Linked DNA regions of Homo sapiens: regions 2, 3, 4 and 5 are each linked to region 1. The links are contacts of gene promoters, found by promoter capture Hi-C in blood cells and fetal thymus (Javierre and others, 2016). All regions are on one chromosome and are shown on one strand. The core of a region is centred on a gene start or on the middle of the fragment in contact, and the rest is flanking DNA. Distances in the headings are between cores, read along the strand shown. Region 1 holds the start of OR4L1 (olfactory receptor family 4 subfamily L member 1). Region 2 has its middle 19 kb from the start of OR4K14. Region 3 holds the start of OR4K17 (olfactory receptor family 4 subfamily K member 17). Region 4 overlaps OR4K14 (olfactory receptor family 4 subfamily K member 14). Region 5 has its middle 17 kb from the start of OR4K17.

Region 1 (2,922 bases), core at 132-2,631:
CCTCTGATGCCACATACAGTCTCCCCCACCCTTAACAACCTGAACCAGAGTGGTACATTCGTTACCGCTGGTGAGCCTACATTGCACATTATTATCTCCCCAAATTTGTAGTTTACATTAGGATTTACTCTTGATGTTATACATGCTATGGGTTTTGACAAATGTGTTATGTATTTCTAAGTATAGTAGATAAGAATTGTTTCAATACCCTGCAAATTCTCCGTACTTCTCTTATTTCTTCATTTCTCCTTCTTCATTCAAACCCCTGGAAACCACTGAACGTTTAACTGTCTCCAGTTTTTTCTTAGTTTATTTCAAATAAAAGACATGCAACTTTTCCTTTTACTTGAACACTTAGAGGCTATTGCAAAGCTATTAATTGGCCTAAATCCAATATTGTTGTATCTCAAAGAATAGAGAGGCCTGAAGAGAAGGAGAGAGATGAGGGAAGAGTAGGTTGGTGGAGCCGTTAGAAACAACATTTATCAATTGTCTGCCATTCTACATGGGCACGGCTTGTGGTGCCCAAAAATAATGAAAATAGTAACATAAAAGATTACTGGTCACAGATCAAATAACGTGTAATAATAATAATAAAGTTTGAAATAAATATTTTGGGAATTACCAAAATGTGACACAGAGACATAAAGTGAGCACATGCTGTTGGAAAAATGGTGCCAATAGACTTGCTGGATCCAGGGTTGTCACAAACCCTCAGTTTATAAAACATTAAATAACTGCAAAGGACAATAAAGTGAAACACAATAAAAGAGGTATACATGTATATTAAAAAGAAAAATTATTTTAAATAAATTTATATACTTTCATCCATGTATAATTTGCTCCTGATTTGTGTGTGTGTGTGTGTGTGCTTTTTGTTTGTTTGTTTGCTTATTTAGTTTAGAACCATAGAAAAACCTTCATAAATTACTTCAGAGATGTAGAACAATGTAATTCTTCATTTTCTAAATCTTGTATTCCTTATATATTGGGATAACATAATCTCAAGAAGTGCAGGTACAGAATACTATAATAATAAAAGGCAAAATAAAAAGTAATTAATTAGTATCTAATCTTTATATGTGAACAAATGAGTAAGAAAGTCAAGATCCATTGATAAGAGTATGATTTTATGGAATAAACAATAGAAAATGGAACTTCTACTTCTTCAAATGATTTGTAATTACTGCAGAGTAATTGTTTCAAAGTGATATAATATTTAAGCTAATCTCTGTGTTGATATATTTAAAATTATATGATCTCATATCATCAACTATTATCACCAACTAATAGAAATAAGAAAATATTGGTGTTAACTGTGACTTATTTTTTAATTCTCTTTGTATATAAAGAACTTCTGGAACCTTTCTGAGTTGAGTAAATGGATCTTAAAAATGGATCTCTAGTGACCGAGTTTATTTTACTAGGATTTTTTGGACGATGGGAACTTCAAATTTTCTTCTTTGTGACATTTTCCCTGATCTACGGTGCTACTGTGATGGGAAACATTCTCATTATGGTCACAGTGACATGTAGGTCAACCCTTCATTCTCCCTTGTACTTTCTCCTTGGAAATCTCTCTTTTTTGGACATGTGTCTCTCCACTGCCACAACACCCAAGATGATCATAGATTTGCTCACTGACCACAAGACCATCTCTGTGTGGGGCTGCGTGACCCAGATGTTCTTCATGCACTTCTTTGGGGGTGCTGAGATGACTCTTCTGATAATCATGGCCTTTGACAGGTATGTAGCCATATGTAAACCCCTGCACTATAGGACAATCATGAGCCACAAGCTGCTAAAGGGGTTTGCGATACTTTCATGGATAATTGGTTTTTTACACTCCATAAGCCAGATAGTTTTAACAATGAACTTGCCTTTCTGTGGCCACAATGTCATAAACAACATATTTTGTGATCTTCCCCTTGTGATCAAGCTTGCTTGCATTGAAACATACACCCTGGAATTATTTGTCATTGCTGACAGCGGGCTGCTCTCTTTCACCTGTTTCATCCTCTTGCTTGTTTCTTACATTGTCATCCTGGTCAGTGTACCAAAAAAATCATCACATGGGCTCTCCAAGGCGCTGTCCACATTGTCTGCCCACATCATTGTGGTCACTCTGTTCTTTGGACCTTGTATTTTTATCTATGTTTGGCCATTCAGTAGTTTGGCAAGCAATAAAACTCTTGCCGTATTTTATACAGTTATCACACCCTTACTGAATCCGAGTATTTATACCCTGAGAAATAAGAAAATGCAAGAGGCCATAAGAAAATTACGGTTCCAATATGTTAGTTCTGCACAGAATTTCTAGATGTTAGCACTATATAATTAACTTTTAAATGCTACGATAAGATAGTTTGAATAGATTATGTATAATGCATCATTTCACTTTTCTTATGTTATAATAATAACGCATAAAGACAATACTAAATTACTTTAAATTTTACATTTAAGACTTTTATAAACATAAGGATAGAGATCTGCAGCAAAATAGACATAAAAATAGACATAAATAAACATAAAAAGATTATTGAGGATTTTTATCATATACATTCAATATATTCATTAATAAAGAAACAACTGTAAATGAATACATGAAGATATGAATATTATTAGAGGTTATTTTAATATATATTGATAATGTTATTCATAAATTTATACTATTATTAAATGAGGTATCATGAACAAGTCATGAATTAAATAATGTTAACAGAAAAAGCAATTCTAGTTTCTTGAATCAATGGAGGCAAAAAGTAAGAATGAGTCCACAAATTCAACAGCACAGTGACTATAAGATGCCAGAGAAAAATGCCAATGGAACGACAATTTTAGTAGAACTACAAACGAACAGCCCTTTTTGAAACCAAATGCTCTGAGGAATATAAGTAAACACAGCTGACTTTCAAACTTCAA
Region 2 (2,922 bases), core at 265-2,764, 60 kb before region 1:
TGATGAACATGCAATTTTTAGAATTAAAATATGTGTGACTAATAAAAATCTGAAAAGATGTTCATCCACAGTGCTGCTGAGGCAAATGCAAACTAAAATGTACTATCATTATTATACATCATATTTGAAAAATTATCATTAAAATTGAAGAATGATATTATCTAGTGTAGGAAAGAATATGAAAATAGCATCACATACATGGCTCATGGAAGTATACATTACTACAGTTTTTTGGGGGAGAAATACCTGTCCACATTTGTCTCAGAAATTTTACTTTCAGCCTCTGTCTCTTACATATACTGAATAGCAGTCTGAAGAAATATGAACAAATTGTTCACTGTAGAATCTTTTATTATAATGATAAAATAGATGATCTACAACCCCATTGATAGAATATTTTATTATAACATACCATATTTGATGGTTTTATTATCATATATCAGTTAAAAATAATTAGAACTATAGCCAGGAGTGGTGGCATGGGCCTGTAATCCCAGCTACTCAGGAGGCTGAGGCAGGAGAATTGCTTGAACCTGGGAGGTGGAGGTTGCAGTGAGCCAAGATGGGGCCACTGCACTCCAGCCTGGGGGACAGAGAAAGACTCCATCTAAAAAAAATTAGTAATAATAATTAGAGCTGAATATAGCACACGAAATCACATCCACGGTATATTACTGTATTGAGGAAAGCCTTTCTCGCTCTTTCTCTTCCCTCTCTTCCCCTCTCAGTGGTATAGAGGCAGAAAAAGAACAAAGTGGAAACTTTTATATTTACTTAAGACATTTTTGTAATATTAAACAAAATTAAATTAAATCTAACGTCAATAATTCTGATTAGAAAAGGTACTCCAGATAAAGCAGTACAAGCAAAGGTGTACTGGTAGAAGAAATGCAAGGCCCTTCAAGCCAAATTTTCCTTAATGTTTCATCACCCTTTCCACTAACCTCAGCCATGTGGGCCAGGGGGACCCTTACCTCTCTATAAAATCCAGCTGACATTATTACAACTCTCAGATCTTCTTTTCCTCTTCTATTAATTGCTTTCTACCCTCACATCCCATATATTTTTATGTTTCATAATTTCTGAAAAAGGATTGATTAAAAATTTTTAATGATTTCCTTTGTGATTTGACTGTGAGTAGCTGAATCTTGAAATCCCTAAACATCAAAATTTCGTAATGGTGGCCAGTGTAACCAGGGGTTTTCATCTTAATTCATTAATTTTCTTGGTCTATAATATCTAGGATGGTTGTATACTGTTAATGTGCCAGGAGTCCATGACTGCAGGACCTAAGAATTTACAGACAAGAAGGTATGTAATTTGACTTAAAATCTATTATACTGACAGCCTTTCTTCATGCTCCTGTCATCAGGGCCTACCTGCAGAAGTAGTATTCAATGCTAATTGTGCTCTTTTTCAATATAATATTGTCTATGCAATGTTATATTGTGTAAATCAAACAATGCATTTTTAAAAGGTTTTAAGAGTATATGGCTAGCAAAATTAACAATCTTTGCTTCTGAGAATTGGGAAGATAATTATTTTCTTCATGTTTTTCATGATTCTGAAAGTGAGATTATTTGATGTTATATCTAGACAACTTTTACTCTCAAAACAAGTTAAATGGATTATAATTAAGAGAAATTATTACCTGAAATGTTAAGTAATAATTAAGTTGCAGAAAGAGAAAAAATCCATTTTTTGGATTTTTGTATATAAGAATAAAATGTCATAAACCCTACAGATATGCATAGGAACTCTCAGTAGGTAAGAAGAAAGTCTCAATTGTTAAGGTGAATTTTTATAAATATTTTATTGCCTTTACATGTAGTCTAGTGTCTTATATAATTTAACTTTTCTGTATATATAGATTGTATCATATTTTAAGTATAGTTTTGTGTCCTGTTTTTTCTTTTATTATGTGACCATTTTCTAAAGTTAATAAATATTTTTTAAACACCAGTTCAACAAACTAATATTTAAATTTGGAAGTTTTACCTCATAGTGTCTTGATATTTTTAACTCTTACATATAATTGATGTAATCTTTATATTTACATCATTGCCTTAAATAAGGAATATGTAAATTTTATTATTTTTAAGCTAACTTTTGTTTAGTTTAAAATTATTTTTTTAATATTTTTATCCTCGTCGATTTGCCTAAATGAAAGTATACCGTTTATAGATTTAACAGTGGCATAAACTAAAATAAGGTGAATAAAATTCAATATTTAAACTATAAATTGCTATCTAACTATTATGTCTTAAGTCTTCAAAATGTTGCTCTGTGTATGGCACAACTTAACTATAGAATTTGAGTGAATAACAGCTATCACAAAACACCAAAAACACCCCTCCCCGCAGTTCTCCGTGGACCATCACCCATTTCAACTCATACAGTAGCATGTTCCAGCTATTGTTTATGTAAATGGAAAAAATATACACAACATACAAATTGCTATTTTTATCTCAGAGAAATAGTTGATTTTTATTTGATTTGATAGACTAGTCAAAGGAGAGTCATTTCAATGCATGAATAACCATTTTATAATTATATTTAGATCATTATAAGCATAATGTGTACCTATATGCCCACAGGTATGATTTAAGATAAGAAATATATCATTTACAATAATAAACTGGAAATAAGTGTATTATAGAATATGGTAAGCTGAAGAGGCATATCAAAGAAAATATACTAAGAGGTCATTGAACTAGCAATAATCCCAAGTGGAATGTGATCTTTCCTGTAGCTATGTGCACAGGTTAGAGTCCTACAAGAGTTTTCTTGATGGCAAAGGGTACAGGGATTCCCTTTTCTCAAATAAAAGCTCTACAGATCTAATGTCCATTTACTGGAATCTGAAATTCTACCTTTGATTTTATTTTTTCCCCAAATATTCTTATTAAAAAAAAATTTCAG
Region 3 (2,922 bases), core at 298-2,797, 50 kb after region 1:
ATTACCATTCAGGACATAGGCATGGACAAGGACTTCATGTCTAAAACACCAAAAGCAATGGCAACAAAAGACAAAATTGACAAATGAGATCTAATTAAACTAAAGAACTTCTGCACAGCAAAAGAAACTACCATCAGAGTGAACAGACAACCTACAAAATGGGAGAAAATTTTCACAATCTACTCATCTGACAAAGAGCTAATATCCAGAATCTACAATGAACTCCAACAAATTTACAAGAAAAAAACAAACAACCCCATCAAAAAGTGGGCAAAGGACATGAACAGACACTTCTCAAAAGAAGACATTTATGCAGCCAAAAAACACATCAAAAAATGCTCACCATCACTGGCCATCAGAGAAATGCAAATCAAAACCATAACGAGATACCATCTCACACCAGTTAGAATGGCAATCATTAAAAAGTCAGGAAACTACAGGTGCTGGAGAGGATGTGGAGAAATAGGAACACTTTTACACTGTTGGTGGGACTGTAAGCTAGTTCAACCATTGTGGAAGTCAGTGTGGCGATTCCTCAGGGATATAGTACTAGAAATACATTTGACCCAGCCATCCCATTACGGGGTATATACCCAAAGGACTATAAATCATGCTGCTATAAAGACACATGCACACATATGTTTATTGTGGCACTATTCACAATAGCAAAGACTTGGAACCAACCCAAATGTCCAACAATGATAGACTGGATTAAGAAAATGTGACACATATGCACCATGGAATACTATGCAGCCAAAAAAAATGATGAGTTCATGTCCTTTGTAGGGACATGGATGAATTTGGAAATCATCATTCTCAGTAAACTATCACCAGGACAAAAAACCAAACACTGCATGTTCTCACTCATAGGTGGGAACTGAACAATGAGAACACATGGACACAGGAAGGGGAACATCACACTCTGGGGACTGTTGTGGGGTGGGGGGAGGGGGGAGGGATAGCATTAGGAGATATACCTAATGCTAAATGACGAATTGATGGGTGCAGCACACCAGCATGGCACATGTATACATATGTAACTAACCTGCACATTGTGCACATGTACCCTAAAACTTAAAGTATAATAATAATGAAATTAAAAATACAAAAAAACTTTACAAATTAAAAAAAAAGTTACAAAAACAATGCTTATAATAATTCAATTATCAATCAAATAATTCAACTGTATAAATAGTAATTATTATATTAATAAATAAATTTCTATTCATTCTATGTAAATACATAAGAAAGGAAGTATATTGTAAGTTTAACCCCATGCCTAGTATATAGGAAACTATGTATGAACTGGCTATTTTTATTATCACTAGTCTATAAGCTTCTGGGGGGCTAGGAGTGTGTTCCTGTATTTATAGCCCTATAATTAGCCAAATGCCTAACATATAGTGTAGCTCAACTATTGTTCCCTTTAAGAGATAGGCTATTAATTACTGAGCAAGTGAATGAAACTAATGAATGCTTGAAGCATCAGAGAAGTGGTTTGGCTTATATTTGCAATGTCATAATTAAGCTCCAAACCCGCACATGCCTTTCTTCATAAGGTTCATTGTCTGTTTCATTACACCTCTCTTATGCCCTTTCTACCTTTCTATAGGTTTACCCGTATATCTTCCTCTCCTCATTATAACCCACCTCAACCACTGCTTTTATATCACCTAGTGATAGAGGTGGCATTTATCTTACCAGAGGATAGTCCTAAGGGCCCACCTCAGCATCCTTTTCTCCCCTTGTGCCCCTACATTAAGCTTAATCTCATTACTTTACAACCAGGAATCAAAATTAAATGGTCCCACAGCCAGCTGAGACAAAATAAAGAAGAAAGCAGGACACTAGCTCCAAAACCTCTCCAATCACCCTAGTGAAATTAACTTCATCTGTCACATTTAAACTATCATTGATTACGTAATATACTCTGTGGCCCTGAAGCATTATTCCCTCAGCAGACAGAATCACCGTTAGAATCATCTATAGAGGATTCCCAGAGTTTTCCAGCACTTATTAGGCACTACCTAATTCTAAGAGAGACGGTATTAGGAACTCCCCTGATTGGAGTCTAGATACTTTAGTGACTTGTTTCTTCTATGGAACTATAAGTTGAGAAGGTGCATGCCCTTCTCGATATTGTCCCCTCTGAACCCATGGCCCTGACTTCTTCTGAACTGGTAAGCAGAAGACATTGCTGACATTATAAAGCCAATGTATTTGCCTGTCACAGTTCACACAAGATAGCAATTGTTAAATGAACTTGTTATAATCAGTCATGAAAAAGCATAGTCTCAGGTTTGAGAAAATGCTCAAGACATTCTGGAAAATGTACCAAAAAGAAAATTAAACTCAGACTTACGAAGACTAAATGAGATGATATATGTGAAGTTCCTAGTACAGAGTCCAGCAAACAGCAGAACCTCAATAAATGATTGAATTTATTATCATTTGGAAAATGACACTGAGGCTTAAGTATATGCTAGGAACTTTACCAGGTGTTAAGATGGCAAACTAAAATAGTTCACAAACTTGGGAGGAAGACAGAAGTATATATAAATAACTATATTATAGGTTATAAGGGTAGTACTATGAGGGTACAGAGGAGAGAATCATCGACTGAGTCAGTTTCTTAGGAAAGTTTCCACTGAGAATGTATTGATTTGGACATTAACAGTGAACAGAACGAGTCAGAAAACAAGAGTATTCATGATTTGGTTGTATGTATTTCTTCTTGGCATGGACTTACATTTCCTGAAACTATCTTTCTAGAGGCTCTTGCAGAGAGAACTAGGCTGCTCCTAAATTAAAGTCATTAAAATGACCACATCTCAAAAACCCTTGCTAATTTAAGAGCATGTAAGCATTTTTATCCCCAGTCATCAGCTCTATTTGGAGTTTTGCTTTGGTGTTATTGTCGTT
Region 4 (2,922 bases), core at 303-2,802, 43 kb before region 1:
TTATAGCTAATAGCAATATATTATACACTTGAAAATCACTAAGAGAGTAGGTTTTGCATTGTCATCACAGAAAATAAGTATGTGATTTAGCCATTCCACAATGTTTACATATATGAAAACATCATGTTGTACATTATAAACATATATAATTTTCATTTATCAATTAGAAAGAAAGAGAGAGGGAGGGGAAGGAAGAAAAGAAGTAAGTGAAAATGCCTGTCAACTGCCTGGCACATGAAAGTGATCAACTAAGTGTTATCTATGTATAATTTTTAACTTGCAAGTGATACTCTAAAATATAGACTGTTATATACTAACAAGCATGTATATTTGCCTTTTTCAAACTTCAGTGATTCCTGAGGGGCAGTTAGACATTCTGGAAGACTTCTGCATAGGTGAGAGTTGTAGGAACTTTTTTTTTCCTTCTTTCCATGGCCTTTGTCCATATAAAAACATGGATCAATCAAGTGCAGTAGGTGAACCAAAATTCCTTAGGAGGATTGAGAATATGAAGATTTTTTCAGGGATTCTATCTTCTCACCATCTCTGTCGATATCATTGCCCAATGGGTAATTAATTATTGTTAAGCACTAAATATTGAAATTAAAGCTTCACTTAAAAATAATGTCAACACGTAAGACATGGGAAACTGAATGTACATTATTAAGTGTCTCTTCCTCTTCCTCTCTCTCCATTTACACACACAAACACAAAACTAAACCTAGCAAAGGCATGTTGATAGGTAGATGTATCTATGTATATAAATATGATTAACGTGTCTTTCTCCTGAATCCAAGAGAAGGAAATTTTGTTCCTCAATGACAAAATTTAAAGGAGAAAAATTACTTTAAGCTAAAACGCATGTTTTGGATATAACGACTATGGGCGGGGGGTGATGTATAAATACAGATGAGCTCCCAAATCATGTACCCAACTTATGTATGTTGCTTAGTAATTTTATAAAAGTCTCATTTATTGTGTTATATGTGGGTTGTAGAATGGCTTTTCTGATATTCTCAGATAATATCTCTGAGGAAAATTTGATCTAAATAATGGCTCGTTTACATAAAGTTTTAATCTAAAGTGTTAATCTGTGCTATCAGGGAGGACAGCCTATAATTGCAAAACGTGGGACTCTTTCCTCTTTCTTGCCCTTCATCAATAACCTGGATATGTATAATTTGCAAGTTTACAGATAGCACAAATCTGACACGATTTACTTACAGACTTATAGAATATTTCAATATGCTGGAAATATGGGCCGTAATCAGCAAACTAGAGAGAAAAGGTGAAAGGAGGAAGAGAGAAGAGTGTAGACTGATAATCAGCCTAACAGAGACATAGAGTATTATATTATTAATATATTTCTTCATAATCACGCTTTTAATTTGTTGTAATTATAATTCATTTTTTCTTAAAAAATGAATAAAAATATTTATGGTAAAATGTGTTGTAATGCTTTTGATTAAATGAGCGAAAAAGTAGATCTTCTTCAAGGCATTTGCATCTTATTTTCCAGTTAAATTTCAACTCAAGAAATTGCTTCCTATAGAGCCATAATGTTGAGATTTCTTCCATATTTAATCTGCTTGGAATATTTCCTTTTTTTTCCCAACCACTTTATTAAGGTACAATTTATATAATATAAAATCATCTATTTAAAATATTTAGTCAATCATTTTTTAATTATTTTACCAACTTGGTTATCTCCATAATACTTCCTTTGGAATTTTGAAAATCTCAGTCCCTTCCAGGACCTCTCTTGGCAGTAGTCAGGCTATCTTCTTCCTTATTCATTTACTCACTTACACACTCACTCATTCAGACTGTATCTATAAGACACTAACACAGTTCTTCATCTCACTTTATTTGGTATAAAAACCAATCAATACAAGAAGAAATAAATCACTTAACCTAGGTTTTATTTAGTTTCTTCACCCCACAGATTTTTATTTTTGCTCTTATCATTTTTAAATTAATTGTATTTGGGATAAAAAGCCTATTTGATTAGATACATAAATCTATCTATAAATGAATTAGATCATTTATAGATTTATTATTTATAAACTTTCTCCGAGATGATTTAGAATGACTTTCTTTTAAAAATATTTTAAATTATTATGTGGAAGCTGAGCAAAATAAACTGATGGAGATAGTATAAAAATGGTTACTAGACAATGGGAAGGGTAGTGGGGAGAGTGGGAAAATAAAGGGAGGATGATTAATGAGTAAGAAAATGCAGTTAGGATGACTTTCACTGAAAAAGATATTTCCAAGACCTCTCAACAAAGACCAGAGCATAAAACCTATGCAATCATTTTTGAGGGTGTTTTCACCATTACACATGATTGACTAATAAGTTCATCACGTTATTTTAAAACGTAGCTCTGAGTTTTCAGATGAAATGGAACAGGATGCATAGGTCCCATAATTAGTTTTTTTTATGAGCAATAAACTGGAGTCTCACTCTCCTCACTGAGAGGAAAATATTGTATAAAGCTTTTAATAAGGGGTATCACATAGAATCCTTCATGAGAAATTACAAAAAAGATGCAGGACTCTCCTTCATTTAATGTTGTTCCTTTATAAAATTGAAGAATGTAACATAAAAGAAGAGTCTTGTAAGGCTTCTACAGGGAAATAAAGTAACTTATTCTAGTTGTGAAATAGTCTAATAATGAGAATTTGATATAGTAATAGATTTTTAGAATCTAAAGGGATTAATAATTACCATATCTTCTTTAGTCCACCCAAATAGCACCCATCTCAACCAGACTGTTGTCAAGATAATGAAAATTCAAAATTGCTTTGCTTCTCCTTGAATTTCTATAAAAACATTACATTAAATCATTTAATTGCAACACTTTTTTTGACAATTAGATGCTACCCATCTTTAGTCTGAAATTTTAAGTCTGAAGCCAA
Region 5 (2,922 bases), core at 135-2,634, 33 kb after region 1:
GCCAAATAATGTATTCTGAATATCTGATGAGCTATTAAGCCATGAAATTGAAATATAGAATAGATTTTCTTTTTTCTCTTCTGGTGCTCCAGAACTAGAATGTGGTATAAATATGTTCATTTGCATCTGTGTACGTCTCTTTTCTCTCTCTCTCTCTCCCCCTCTCTCTATGTGTGTGTGTGTATGTATGTGATGTTTACTAATAATTGTCATAAAAATAAAAGAGAAGGAAAAGGAAGCTAGGATTAAATTTCTGAATCAAATCTAAACGGAAGATATTAGGTTGGTGCAAAACCGCAATTACTTTTGCACCAACCTAGTGGAAGTGAGCCGAAAGTGTCAGCTCAATGTGGGAAGACATATAGAATACAAGTGTCAAGGATGTAAGAGCCAGTAAAATAGTCAGGAGGCAGTTTGCATGTGTGTGAAATATCAGAGGAAAGCACTGGGTACAGGAAGATATGCATTTAAAAGCCAAGGAAACACAAACATAAAGGATTGTTGGTTGCTCAGAGACTGTCTACAAAACACAGATTGCAAAGGGACAAGAAAGAAAGCACTCCAGCCAGGAGCCCAACAACATGAGATTCAGGAAAATAAGCAAGAGGTCTGCACAGTAATGGTAGGAGTTTTGTACAGTAACCAAATTATGACACAAAATACTACACTAAAAGAAAAAAAAATACATCTGGACCCTGGGAAACATTTTTGATTTTATCTAGAAACTTTCTAGAAAGTTAACATTTTAAAATAATTATAAAAGCATGGGGTGAACAGTAAGAACATATGCCAGACTGCAGCCAGCTTAAAGCTTCAGAAATAAGTGAAATCATTGGTATATCATTTGGGGATAAAAGAGAGAGGTAAGAGTATAGTATAGCAGATAGAAGAAAGTGCCATAAAATAATGTGTTAAACTGGGTGTATTAGTAAACTCACTTGCACATGTATGAATGCTTCAAATTAGAGAGAGGGAAAAGAATGAATACTAGGCACCAAAAAGCTAAGCAACTTTGCTCTTATCCACTCTTGGACTAACTCATTTGGCTAATAGTTATTTGACTAATTTTACTCATGGACCTATTGAACTCATGCATCAAGAACTCATGAACTCATCATAGAGACAATAAATGCACGTGGAGACAAAAATCTATGTCTGCAAACCATAATTACAGAATTTTATAATATATTTCTCATCTTTTGTGCCTTTCTGATTGAAGAAAATACAATAATGTCAATGACACTTGAATTAATTAAATTGTATTTTTCATATATGTTCATCTTCTCTCTTTCTGTAGGAATCAAATACTTTCTATATGTCCATATCTTCAAAATGGTCACAGGTAAAATTATAACTTTTTTCAGACTATCTTTATTTCAAATAGCTTTTGAAAACTACCAGATGGATATAAGAAACAGCTCAATAATAATCTGAGTTTGTTTTGTTAGAATTCATCAGCACTTGGGAACTTGAAATTTTGTTTCTTAAATATTTTTGTTGGCCTATGCAGCAATCATGGCAGGAAACCTCACTGCAATCGCTGTAACCTCCAATCCTCCCCTTTGCTCAACACCTATGTACTTCCTCCTTGGAAATCTCTCCTTTCTCAGTATGTTTATTTCCACAGTCACAATCTCTAAGATGGTCCAGACGTTCTCAGGGAGAATAAAACCACTTCCTCATGGGGCTGTATGGCTCAGATCTCCACTTCTTAGGAGGCAGTGAGATGACTCTTCTCATATTTATGGCTGTTGATCAGCACATTGCAATATGCAGACCTCTTCACTGCAGAACCATCACGAACTGCAGGGTACTCATGGCCACTCATGGGCTCTGTGCTGCTATCACGGGCTGTTGGTTTTGTGCATACTATAAGCCAGATTGTTTTTATTATCACCTTGCCCTTCTGTGGCCCCAGTGTGGTGGACAATTTATTTTGAGACCTTCCTCTAGTTCTGAAGCTTGCCTGCACTGAGACTTATGATCTGGAGTTGCTGGTAATTGCTAAAAGTGGACAGTTGTCTTTCATCTGCTTCATAGTCTTGCTCATTTTCTACACTATTATTCTGGTAACTGTGCAGCATCGATCCTCTGATGCACTCTCCAAGGCTCTGTCCACACTGTCTGCTCATATCACTGCAGTCACTCTATTTTTATGAGCCATGTGTCTACATTTACACTTGGCCATTTAGGAGCTTTTCAGTGGATACATTTCTTTCTGTGTTTTATTCAGTTACACCCTTACTGAACCCCATTACTTACAGTCTGAGATGAAAGCATCTATACATCAACTGAGGACCCAACACATCATCTCCAGACAAACCTTCTCTAATCAGCAATCATGAGGACAGGATATTAGTTCAGAACCCATATAAATTACGTTTCAGAATATGTTGATATTAATTTTATTTGTTGATTTCTATAAATAATATTGCATATATTGAAATTATCAAATATAATTTTTCATTATTATATTTCTATGGCATGTGTGGTTTTGTTGAAAATATAATTATCAGCCTGGGAACTCCATTACTGGGTATATACCCAAAGGAATATAAGCCATTCTATTATAAAGATACATGCATGCATATGTTCATTGCAGCACTATTGACAATAACAAAGACATGGAGTCAACCTAATTTCCCATCAATGAGAGACTGGGATTTAAAAAATGTGGTATATATACACCATAGGATACTATAGAGCCATAAAAAAGCAATGAGATCATGTCCTTTGTAAGGACATGGATGGAGATGGAGGCCATTATCCTTAGCAAACTAACACAGGAACAGAAAACCAAACACTGCATGTTCTCACTTAAAAGCAAAAGAGAACACATGGACACATAGAGGGGAACAACACACACTGGGCCTTTTGGAGGGTGGAGGGTGGGAGGAGGGAGAAAATCAGGAAACAAAACTA

The links. The method cuts DNA at HindIII sites, captures the fragments that hold promoters and counts their contacts. A CHiCAGO score of 5 or more calls a contact.
Region 2: a contact is called between a fragment that was not itself captured here and the fragment with the promoter of OR4L1 in region 1, in 3 of 17 cell types (neutrophils, M2 macrophages and total B cells). The highest score is 8.4, in neutrophils.
Region 3: a fragment that was not itself captured here is called in contact with the fragment with the promoter of OR4L1 in region 1 in 13 of 17 cell types (M2 macrophages, fetal thymus, M1 macrophages and 10 more); the score reaches 9.2 in M2 macrophages.
Region 4: a contact is called between a fragment that was not itself captured here and the fragment with the promoter of OR4L1 in region 1, in 2 of 17 cell types (neutrophils and fetal thymus). The highest score is 7.9, in neutrophils.
Region 5: a contact is called between a fragment that was not itself captured here and the fragment with the promoter of OR4L1 in region 1, in 6 of 17 cell types (fetal thymus, M2 macrophages, total B cells and 3 more). The highest score is 7.2, in fetal thymus.

The regions. Positions count from the first base shown.
Region 1 is chr14:20,058,664-20,061,585 of GRCh38, forward strand. It overlaps OR4L1 (olfactory receptor family 4 subfamily L member 1), which reads left to right and starts at 1,382. Exons shown (of 1, transcript NM_001004717.1): 1 at 1,382-2,320. The coding sequence starts at 1,382. The coding sequence ends at 2,320. The HindIII fragment of the contact is 2,043 bases long and covers 1-1,937 here.
Region 2 is chr14:19,998,877-20,001,798 of GRCh38, forward strand. No RefSeq gene overlaps it. Among named protein-coding and RNA genes, the nearest start is that of OR4K14, 19 kb to the right of the region's middle. The HindIII fragment of the contact is 4,026 bases long and covers 1-2,922 here.
Region 3 is chr14:20,108,713-20,111,634 of GRCh38, forward strand. OR4K17 (olfactory receptor family 4 subfamily K member 17) reads left to right here and starts at 2,027. Exons shown (of 2, transcript NM_001004715.5): 1 at 2,027-2,180. The HindIII fragment of the contact is 427 bases long and covers 1,335-1,761 here.
Region 4 is chr14:20,015,488-20,018,409 of GRCh38, forward strand. All of the region lies in intron 1 of OR4K14 (olfactory receptor family 4 subfamily K member 14), which reads right to left. Among named protein-coding and RNA genes, the nearest start is that of OR4K14, 2.4 kb to the right of the region's middle. The HindIII fragment of the contact is 1,890 bases long and covers 608-2,497 here.
Region 5 is chr14:20,091,943-20,094,864 of GRCh38, forward strand. It overlaps the pseudogene OR4T1P. Among named protein-coding and RNA genes, the nearest start is that of OR4K17, 17 kb to the right of the region's middle. The HindIII fragment of the contact is 1,150 bases long and covers 810-1,959 here.